Linked DNA regions of Homo sapiens: region 2 is linked to region 1. Evidence: promoter capture Hi-C in 16 types of primary human blood cells and fetal thymus (Javierre and others, 2016). All regions are on one chromosome and are shown on one strand. Each heading gives the region's core, a stretch centred on a gene start or on the middle of the fragment in contact. The rest is flanking DNA. Distances are from core to core; before and after follow the strand shown. Region 1 holds the start of SLC12A5-AS1 (SLC12A5 and MMP9 antisense RNA 1). Region 2 has its middle 26 kb from the start of CD40.

The links. The method cuts DNA at HindIII sites, captures the fragments that hold promoters and counts their contacts. A CHiCAGO score of 5 or more calls a contact.
Region 2: a fragment that was not itself captured here is called in contact with the fragment with the promoter of SLC12A5-AS1 in region 1 in 1 of 17 cell types (naive B cells); the score reaches 6.0 in naive B cells.

Annotation. Positions count from the first base shown.
Region 1 is chr20:46,018,486-46,024,138 of GRCh38, forward strand. It overlaps SLC12A5-AS1 (SLC12A5 and MMP9 antisense RNA 1), which reads right to left and starts at 3,588. Exons shown (of 3, transcript NR_147699.1): 1 at 3,039-3,588; 2 at 1,246-1,363. It also overlaps a transcript of SLC12A5 not described here. RefSeq lists silencers at 3,099-3,258, 3,279-3,638. The HindIII fragment of the contact is 8,792 bases long and covers 1-5,600 here.
Region 2 is chr20:46,141,862-46,147,514 of GRCh38, forward strand. No RefSeq gene overlaps it. Among named protein-coding and RNA genes, the nearest start is that of CD40, 26 kb to the left of the region's middle. The HindIII fragment of the contact is 6,101 bases long and covers 1-5,653 here.

The DNA.
Region 1 (5,653 bases), core at 2,338-4,837:
GGCTCCCACCCCACTACACCACCAAAGTCACCCTCTTCAAAGCCATTTATGACCTTCTTGTAGCCAGATGTGACAGGAGCTCCTCTCTGCTCATCCCACACCAACTCTCCCCACATTGACACAGTGGATCCTGCCCTTCTTCCTGAAACTCTCGGCCTCTGGAACCTTACTTCTGGGTCTCCTCCTACCTCACTGGGTGGATTTTCCTCTTCTGGTGACAGAGGCACCCTTGTGCTCAATCGTGGGAATCCTCTGCTCTGTGTATACTCATTCCCTGTGATGTCTGGTAGCCCACAGCCTTAAATAGCATCTCTCTGCTAAAGACCGTGAAATTTATGTTTCCTACCATAACCTCCTCTCCCCTGCCCCGAGCTCCAGACTCATGTTCAACTGCCTACTCTACATGGCTCCTTAGCTGGCAAACAGACCTCTCAACCTAACGGGTCCAAACTGACTCCTGGGTTTCACCTTCCAAACGTGCTCCTCTGTTGTTACCACTTTAATAAGAGACAGCATCATCCACCCTCAATCAAACTGAACACCTAATCAGTCCTAAAATCTAGGAATCAGTTATTTAAACTTCTTTTCTAGTACTGGGTTTCTCAGCCTCTACACTATTGACATTTTGGGCTGGATACTTTGTTGTGGGGGATTGTCTTACACTGTACATCTACACTGTACCTTCTAGCATGTTTGGTGTCTTCCTCTAGGAGGTGACAGGATCCACGGCCAGATGCCAGGCCCATTCAGGGTCAGCCCTCTCTGCTAAGGAAGGCCCCAGTGTGGGGATGGGGTGCAGCAGGGTAATGTTGAACTGTGACTCATGGCCAGGCAGCCCTGGTACAAACCTAGAGGGCCCAAGAGGCCTTTAGCCCCTAGATGCTGGTACTAGCCCCTGCTCCAGTTGTGATAACCAAAAATGTCTCTGAATATTGCCAAACATTCCCTGGTGGTCAACATTGCTCCCAGTTGAGAACCATTGCCATAATATAATAAATATACAAATGTATCTATCATAAGTGTACATTTGAAGACATTTTCACAAATGGAACACAAGTGTGTAACCAGCACCAGGTCAAGAAACAAGAGGCTGGGCATGGTGGCTCATGCCTATAATCCCAGCACTTTGGAAGGCCAAGGCAGGTGGATCATCTGAGATCAGGAGTTCAAAACCAGCCTGGCCAACATGGTGAATAACTCTCTCCACTAAAAATACAAAAATTAGCTGGGCACGGTCGTGGGTACCTTGTAATCCCAGCTACTTGGGAGGCTGAGGTAGGAGAATTTCTTGAACTGGGAGGTGGAGGTTGCAGTGAGCCAAGATCATGACACTGTACTCTGGCCTGGGCGACAGAGTGAGATTCTGTCTCAAGAGACAAAAAAAAAAAAAAAAAAAAAGAAAGAAACAAAACATTATCAGCACCCTAGAAGCCTGCTTGCAATCACTACCTCTTCTCCCCAAGGGGTACCACTATCATTACTTTTTTTTTTTTCTGTCACCCAGGCTGGAGTGCAGTCGCATGATCTCTGCTCACTGCAACCTCCGCCTCCCAGGTTCAAGCAATTCTCTGCCTCAGTCTCCCAAATACCTAGGATTACAGGCACCCACCACTACACATGGTTAATTTTTGTATTTTTAGTAGAGATGGGGTTTCACCATCTTGGCCAGGCTGGTCTTGAACTCGTGACCTCATGATCCACCAGCCTTGGCCTCCCAAAGTGCTGGGATTACAGGTGTGAGCCACCGCGCCCAGTGCCACTATCATTACTTCTAACAGCTTAGATAGACTTTGACTATTTTTTACTGTATTTAAATAGTGTTATAGGGTATGTATTCTTTTGTGTCTGGACTCTTTTTTATCAAGGTTCTATTTGTGAGATTCATCCATATTGTTCTGAGAATTGTAGATGGTATTCCATTGTGTGAAGGTACTACGACTTATTTCTCTATTTTACTGTTGACAAGCATTTGGTAGATTCCAATTTGGGGCTATTATGAACAATGCCCCTATGAACATTCATGGTAAATGTCTTTTGGTGATCACAAGTAGTCATTTCTTTCGGGTATATACCTAGGAGAAAAACTGCTGGGTTGAAGGATATGTGTACGTTCACCTTCAGTAGATGTTTCCAAATAGTTTCCCAAAGTAGTTTTTGCCTAACTACACTCCCACCAGCAGTGTGTGAATTGCCAGGATTTCTCCTTGACTTCACTCTTATGGTCACGTGTCACATCCGATCCATCAGTGGGTCCTGATGGTTTCACTTTCAAAACCTAACTGGAATCAGACAACTGCCACCACTCTAGTCTGGCTGTCATCACCCCCCAGCTTGGGGTCTGCAGGAGCCTCCTAATTAGATTTCCAGCTTCTACTCTTGCCATTCTTTAGTTGAACCTTCGCCCAGCAGCCAGAATGATCCTGTTAAATTATAAATTGGATCACATCATTCCCCTGCTCAAAAAATCCAGGATCCTCCCCAAAGCCTTCAGAAGACCACATGATCTGCCCTTCTCTCCTCCCTCATCTCCAGTCACTCTCTTCTCCACTCACTCTCTTCCAGACACAATGGCCTTGCTGTTTCTTGGACAGTCGGGACTCCTTCTCACTCCAAGGCTCTGCATTTGCTGTTTCTTCTTCTAGAGAACTCTTCCCCCTAGATCTTTGCATAGCTGGCCCTTCTCATCAGTGAGGTCTCAGCTCAAATACCACATCTTCTAGGAGGCCTTCTCAGGCCACCCCTAAAGTAGTCCTCCCTCTTACCCATTATCCCATGGCCCTAGTTTTAAACATACATCCAATCTCAAATGATCTCATCTATGCATTTGCTCACTTATAATCTTTTTCTCCTTATTAGAATTTAAGCCACTTGAGGGCAAGAAGCCAGTGGATCTCATCCACCGACGTATCCCTCGCACCATTGACCGAAACACAGGAGCGCTATCGACATGTGCCGAATGAATGAATGAATGAATGAATGAGCCCCAGGTGTTTAGGAGACCCTAACAGAGGTGCCCCCGTTGTAGGGACGACTCTCACCTGCAGATGGCCTCCTCAGGCCCTTCGGGTGGCACTGGGGAGCCCAGGGCCTCCCAGCGAAGTGGCCAGATTCAGGAACCCTTCGCACAGCGGGCACTAGGACCCTGCGCGGCGCCGCGTCTCGCGGGGGGCGGGCGGGCGGAGGGGGTTGGGGGATCCGCTCTTTCTCCCTCCTAGAGCCTGGTTGCAGCCACTTGTGCGATCCCGGACCTTGCCGCGGCCGCCTGGCTCCTTTCCGCGCCATGAGCCGCAGGTTCACGGTCACCTCGCTGCCCCCCGCAGGGCCCGCCAGAAGCCCTGACCCAGAGTCCCGCCGGCATTCGGTCGCAGACCCCCGCCACCTCCCGGGGGAAGACGTCAAAGGTAGAGGCCGCAGGGGGCGGGGCCTGCCAGGGCCGGGCGGGACGAGGGGGAGGGGCCGGGGCGGACCGTCTGTTGAAGGGGGCAGGGCCAAGACCGGGGGCGGGGAGGGGTCCCAGCCCTAGGCCTGAGAGGGGAATGGAGCCAGGACTAGGAAACCAAGGGGCCGGGGCCGCGGAACGCAAAGTGTGGAGGGGGAGGGGCCAAACGCGAGGTGGGCGTGGCCACGAGGGAAAGGGGTGGGGCCAGGGAAGGGGTTTGGACGGAGGCGAAGGGGGCGGGTCTGGTGATGGAAAGGCCGGGGTCAAGGTGGAGAGTAGGCCGTAGGGCACTAAAGGGGCGGGGACATCTCGAGTAGGGAGCGGGACCAGAGTGAGGAGGTGGAACTAGGGAAAAAGGGGGCTGTGTGTTGAAGGGGGATGGTCAGGAGCCCCTAAAGGGGAGGCGGCGGGACTAGGTTGGTTTGGGGTCAGGAAAGGGCGGGACTAGTAGGGAATGAGTTGGGCCAGGAGGATGGGAGTGGGGCCTGGGAGGGGGGTGGGGTCGAGGGCGGGAGGAAAACTGAGTCAGGGTTGCCGAGGCAGGTGCCAGGTCAGCGGGTCCTCGGTGCCTGGCGGATCCTCCAATCCTCTAGCTCCCTGGAGGCTTAGCGGACAGCGACTGGGGATCCCGGGAAGGAGACGGGAGGCAGGGAAGTTAGTATGGATCCTGGGCAGCGAGATTCAGGGAGGATGCCGTAGGGTCGCTGATCCCGACTCTTGGGGACCCACTTAGCTCCTTGTCTGCTCGAGCTCCGTAAGGGTTGGGAGGAGCCAGCTCAGGCGGGGTTGGGGGCGTCTTCCTCGCGGGCCCTGTGCAGGGTCTTGTAATGGAAGTTACACGCAGGGCACAGAGTATAGGGGAGGGGAAAGATCCTTCTGGCCTTCGGTGGAGAAGTAGCATCCTGGGCGCGTGCACAGTCTCCCCTCAGGGGGCACTCATCAGGGGTCCTCTCCCTGGCTCTGAGGCCCTCGGGTCTGGAAGGAACAAGGCGAATCGGCTTGTAGTGGCCCCAGCGAGGGGAGGAGGAGGAGGAGGAGGAGGAGGAGGAGGAAGAGGAGGAGGAGGAAGAGGAGGAGGAAGAGGAGGAGGAGGAGAAGGAGGAGGAGAAGCCTCCCCAGACCGCCAGGGGTCGCTGCCGAGCCGCAGGTGAGCTCGCCCCGAAGCAAACCCAAGCGCCGAAACCCCTAGAGTAACCCTTAGGGGGTTATCTGGCGGACCTCCTCATTGTACAGATGACCAAATTGAGGCCTGGAATTCCGAATGGCCCCAGTCCCGGGAACCGAACGCCTCCTGGTTGTGGCCACTTGGATTTCTTGGGCTCCTTCCACTCTTCATCTTTCTCATAATCTCTTTTCTCATTTTCATGAATGACCTTACCAGCCTCCCAGATTTGAAAGTAAGAAATTCTGGAGCCATTCTCAACCCTTCCTTTTTTCTTTCCAGCAAATCCAACTGATCCCCACGTCTTGGCCATTCACCTCTGAAACTTATCCTGAATCTGGCAGCATCGGTCCCCCCTCTGTCATCATCGCCCTGCTCCAAGCCTCACATGGCCACGACCACATCCTCTCCACTGGCCTCCCTGCCTCCAGTCCTTCCCTAGCCCTCCTCCACAGAAGCCCCCCATCACTTGCAAAATAAAGGCCAAAGCCTTAAGTCTGTCATTCTCTTTCCTCATTTGCTTCTGGTGTTCTTGTCCACATTCATTCTCCCACCTCCATCAGCCAGGAAAACTCCTATTCGTTCTGTAAGTTATAGCTCATTTAACCTTTTCCAAAAACCTTTTCAGTTTCCTCTTCGGCCCACCCACTGCACCCTTAGTGCACATGTCCCGGTGGATGGCAGTCGTTTTCTTTACTTATGGGTATCCTCCATTGGAACATCTCAAGGACAGGGACCATCTCCTTTATCTTTGTGTTCTGAGTTCCAGACCCAGAGCCTGGCACTTAGTAGGTGTGTAATGCTCATAAGATGAGAGGAGGGTGGCTGTGGGATCCTGCTTCTCTACCCTTGCCTTCTCTTCTCTCGCTCCTCATCCCCTGGCTTAGGAATAAGACGGCCCTCTCTCATGTCCCAAGGTGATTGCTGTTTTCCCATTCACACTCTCAGATGCCGGTACTCACACTACTTCGCTGGGGTCGAAGTGAAACACAGCCCCCAAGCTTTGGGTGTGCAGGTGTGTATGAGCCTGGAATGCTGTGTGCTGTGGCAGA
Region 2 (5,653 bases), core at 1,605-4,104, 120 kb after region 1:
CCATCTAGTCCCAGAGCATTAACCACTACCACTGATTCTCAAATGTAACTCTCGACCCAGATCAATTTCCAGCTGCCTTCCTGATATTTCTATTTGGATGTCCAATAGGTATTTCTAATCTACAAGTCCTAAACGGAGCCTGTGCTACCCACGCCTCTGCCTCTCCCCTTGCCTGCCTTGCTTCAGTAGGTGGTCACACATCTAGGAGTTATCCTTGACTCCTCTCTCTTCTTTGCCTTCCCCATCCAATCCATTAGCCATGCCTGTCAACTTTACCTGCAAAACATATTCTGGAATAGCCAATTCCCTTCATGTCCTCATGCCCTGGTCCGAGCCAGCATCACCCCTCACCTGCAGGCTGCAGCAGCCTCTGGGCTGATCATGCCGCTCTCAACTTGCATCCCTCCAAACCTACCACACGGCAGCTGGAGGATCTTTTAAAAGCATTAATCAGATTACATCACTCAACTGCTTAAAACTCTCAAAGGGCATCCCCTTGTGCTTACAACAAATCCAAGCCCTTTGCTCTGGTTTATAAGGTGCTGTGTGACTGGGGTTTTTTTCTGTCAGTTTCTCTTACTCCATCCATATCCCTCTCTCCCTTGCTCACTCTGCTCTCGTCACATTGCCCTGCCTTTGCCCTTGAACCTACTGAGCTCGGTCCCACTGTGTTCCCTCTGCCCAGAACTTCTCTCCCTTGATCTTCTCTTCCTTTAGCTATCTGCTGGGGGGGGGGTCACTTCCTCCGAGAGGCCTTCCCTGAGTACTCAACAATAAAGCCACTCCAGACACCACTGCATCCCTCTCTTCTTGCTTTTTGCTGAGCATGACAGGTTTTTTTTTTTGCTTTCCTCCATATAATTACAAACTCCACATAAGAAGGAATGTTACCTGTCTTGTTCATTGCTGTATTTTCAGTGCCAAGAATGGTACCTGAATCATAGAAGATGATTATTATTTGCTGATTGAATTAATGAGTTGTATTTTTTACAGTTACCTTTGATGTATGACAGGTGTCACTTTTTTTTCCATTTTAGATGGTGACATAGGTTTCCTTTTAAGAATAAAGCAAAAAAAAATTCTGATAAGAGACTTGAATATATAAGGAACTCTTATAACTCAACAATAAAAAGACAAATACAATGAAAACATGAGCAGAGAATTTGAACAGACATTTCTCCAAAGAAGACATACAAATTGCCAATAAGCACATGAAAAGATGCTCAACATCATTAGTCATTAGGGAAACACAAATCAAAACCACAATGAGATACCATTGCATTTCAAACTACAATGTGATTATCACTTTACTAGAACGGCTAAACCTGGTGAAATTGGAATGCTTGTACATCACTGGTGGGATTGTAAAATGGTGCAGCCACTTAGGAAATAGTCCATCAGTTCCTCAAAAAGTTAAACTTGGTGTTGTCACATGACCCAGCAATTCCTTTGCTTGGTATATACCCAAGAAAAATGACAACATACGTCCATACAAATACTTGTACACAAATATCGATAGTAGCATTATTTAAAAATAGTCAAGAAGTAGAAAAAACTCAAATGTCTGTCAATGGATGAATGGCTGAACAAAATGTGGTATGTACATACAATGGAATAGCATTTGGCCATAAAAAGAGATGGAGTACTGACACAGGCTGCAACATGGGGAATCTTGAAAACCGTGTGCTAATTGAGAGAAGACATTCACGAAAGGTCACCTATTGTATGATTCCATTTATATGAAATGTCCAGAATGGACAAATCCAGAGAAAAAAAAGTCAGTGGTTTCCAGGGGCTGGGGTAGGGAAGAATGGGAAGAGGCTGATAAAAGGTACAGGATTTCTTTTTGGAGGAAATGAGAAATGTTCTGAAATTCAATAGCAGTGGTGCTTGCATGACTCTGTGAATATACTAAAAACCACTGAATTATACATTTTAAAAGGGTGAATTTGGCCGGGCTTGGTGGCTCATGCCTGTGACCCCAGCACTTTGGAAGGCTGAGGAGGGAGGGTTGTTTGAGGCCAGGAGTTTGAGACCAGCCTGGACAACATAGCAACACCTCATCTCTACAAAAAAATACAAAAATTAGCTGGGCATGCTGGCTCACACCTGTAGTTCCAGCTACTTGGAAGACTGAGGCAGGAGGATCACTTGAGCCCAGGAGGCCAAGGCTGTAGTAAGCCATGATTGTACTACTGCACTCCAGCCTGGGTGACAGAGTGAGACCCTGTCTCAATAAAAAAAGGGTGAATTTTATACTATGTGAATTATATCTCAATAAAGCTGTTATAAAAATAAAGTGAAGAAAAATGATAATTTAAAGAAAAAGGCCAACAGCCCCAGTACAGGGACACATGGATCTTTGGCAAAGTCATAGAAGACTCATGTGAATGACTGAAGTTGGTTTGTAGGCTTATAAGGATAAACTGCAGACATCCTAGTTTAACATTGAAGACCTATGCTTAACTCTAGCTTCGTGTGCTGCCCTTTTTAAAATGACTATGTTGACCTTATCCCTATTTCTGGAACACTTAGGAATCTTTCAAGCTGCTTTGTCTTTGCAAATTTTGGGCCCTCCCTGGGATGTCCCTTCTCCTTTTCTTCATCTGGTTGAACCCAAGTCAATATAGGTGGGCTTGATAGGGGATGGGGCATGTGCCAGGCACTGAGCTTGGTGCTGGTGAGACAGTGCAGAGGACTAAGACAGATATGGTCTGGGGCCTTGGCTGGCTCCCAGACAGGGTGAGGAGACAGATGAGGACCTGCCACACCCACACTGGGCTGCAGGAATGCAGTAGAAGAACCTAACACAGCCTGAGAGATCAGAGAAGGCTTCCCCAGAAAGGGACGCTTCAGCTGAGTAGTTGGCCAGGCAAAGAAGAGGGGAGGAGTGCCCCAGATGGAGGGAACAGTCTGGGCGAAAGCCTCAAGACAGCGCGCAGCAAGTTGGAGGAATCCTCAGAAGGTGGGTGTGGCTGGAACACAGCCCAGAAGGTGGTGAGTGCTGAGAAACGGTCCTAGAGAGAAAGCCGGAGCCTGGGGATCAGGGCCCTCATAGGCCATGCCAAGGAATCTGGATACTTGCAGAGCTCAGTTAGATTGCATACAACGCTAGCTGGGTGTGGTGGCGCACCCCTGTAGTCCCAGCTACTCAGGAGGCTGAGGCAGGAGAATCGCTTCAACTCCAGAGGCAGAGGTTGCAGTGAGCCGAGATTGCATCACTGCACTCCAGCCTGGGCAACAGAGTGAGACTCTGTCGCAAAAAAAAAAAAAAAAAAAAAAAAAAAAAGATTCCATACAACTCCAAATGATGGCTGTTTGACTATTTTTTCTTCACATCACGGATCACCCCTGCCGTTATACATCCATCTGTTGATTGTCTTTCCCCCTACTAGAAAGGACAAGGACTTTGTGCTGTTCACTGCTGTGTCCCCAACAGCCAGAAGAGTGCCTGGCTCACACAGACACTCAATAAATACGTATTGAATGCATGACTTTACTGGCCTGTGTCCTCTGCTTACTGAGTTATTGAAAGTCAGGGACCTGTTGGATTCATCATTGCGTCCCCAGGGCCTAGCACAGAGCTTGATGCACATGCTGTTTAATAAATATTGAAAGAATAAATGAATGGAAAAACGTCTTCCCCAATGTGTTACACACTCCCGCAGGGCCGGGACTATTTGATTTATGTATCTAGCGCCCAACACATTGCCTGGCAGAAAGCAGACCCTCAATAAAGGTTTGTTGAGCTAGACAAGAGTCTCTTCTGCATGCGGGCCCTTGTCAGGCCTGTCATGGGAGCTCAAATAAAGGCAACCAGACCCTATACTACTGGATCAGGCAGAAAGAGATACCTTGTTGGCAAAGGATCTTAGGACCCTGGAGTCATAGGCTGTGCAGGCAGGATCAGCCTGCATGTGTAGGGTGGCCAGAGAGACCAAAGAGGGCTTCCCGGGGGTCAGGAATCCTGCCTTTGTTTATGTCCCCTAGCACTGCCCTTCTCTGGCAACTGGCAGGCAGCCCCACCAATGAGGTTTGGGCACAGCTGGGGGTGGAATGGGATGGGACAGATGGTGGGAGACAAGGAAACCCCCATGTTTTCCTCCATCTGTTACATTTAATTGACTTCCCGCAGAAAGAAAAAAAAATAAACCAGTTGCAAGGATGAAATTGCTAATTAAAAGGCCCTCTGATTAGATAGACAAATATTTACCAATTATGCCTGACCCTGCCTGTCCCCTTTTACGTCTGCGAACTCCCCCATCAGCACTGTGGCCACATCATACCCAGCTGGTGGCTCTTCCACCAATCACTCTCTTGGGGCTCAGACTGGCTGCGGGTGAAATAGGGTAGAAGAAAGGTGAATACTGCAAACAGCCGTTCAACAAACGCGATGCCTGTTGCATGGTCAGGCTTAGTGCTGGGCCCCTGGAAGCCATAGCAGAATTTCCATGGACAGCCTTTCAAGTTGTGTGCTGCACAAAGGTGCACCTGCAGGAGAGTGGGGGCTCCCCCTGTCAACCTGGGACCCCTGGCACCAGGCAAGGGGGATTTTTATTTTCTTTGCGCAACGGGTCATTAGCTTGCCAAGCTGAATCCACAGGATTTTGCCTGCCCAGAGGGGGTACCTTTTTCTAATTCACACAGAATGGGCTAGTGGCAGCTCTACAGAGATGAAGATAGTTCAGTTCCTGATCCTCAAGGGCTCTAGGGATAGTGGGGGAGAAAAATATGCCTATGATGTATAAACATTCATGTGTGATTTTTTTTCTTTTTTCTTTTCTTTTTTTTTTGAGGACAGGGTCTCACTGTGTCACCCAGGCTGAGTGCAGTGGCACGATTACGACTTGCTGCAGCCTTGAGACCCCTCTCTCCCCAGCAGCCTCCTGAGGAGCTGGGATTACTGGTGTGCATCACCATGCCTGGCTAATTTTTCATTTTTTGTAGAGACAAGATCTCTCTATGTTACCCAGGCTGGTCTCGAACTCCTGGATGCAAGCAATCCTCCTGCCTCAGCCTCCCAAAGTCCTGGGATTACAAGTGTGAGCTACCATGCCTGGCTTAAACATTCATTCAATAAACATTTCTTGTTTACTGGCCACTAATGTTTGCCAAGCACTGTACTAGATTCTGGGAGAGAGAGAGATGAGTAATATATGTTTCCTGCCCTCCAGAAGCCGGGCTATTTGGGGGAGACAGAGATACTTACCTGGGTCTGCCCTTCCTTTTTCCCCTTCCCTTTTTTAATTCCAAATAATCTTCACCTGGGAGGTATGAATAACCGCTCTGGACTCTCACCATTCAAATCCTGGCTTTACCGTGTCTTGGCTGTGTGACCTTGGGCAAGTTATCTCACCTCTCTCTGCCTCAGGTTGCCTCTCTGTAAACTGGAGATAATGGTAACTGCATCCCAGGGTTATTATAATGATTAAATAAATTAGCACATGGAATTCATGCCTGACACGGAGTGCTCAGTAAAGGTTAGCTATTGTGTGACTGTTTCTTTTTTTTTTTTGAGTGCCTACTGTGTGCCAGGCCCTGAGTCCTGGGGATACAGAACTGTTACCAGTTCATTTCCTCTCCCTTCAGAGCTCACAGTGCGGAACACACAGAGAAACCCACCAACACACAGGCAGGCTCACACATACTCAGG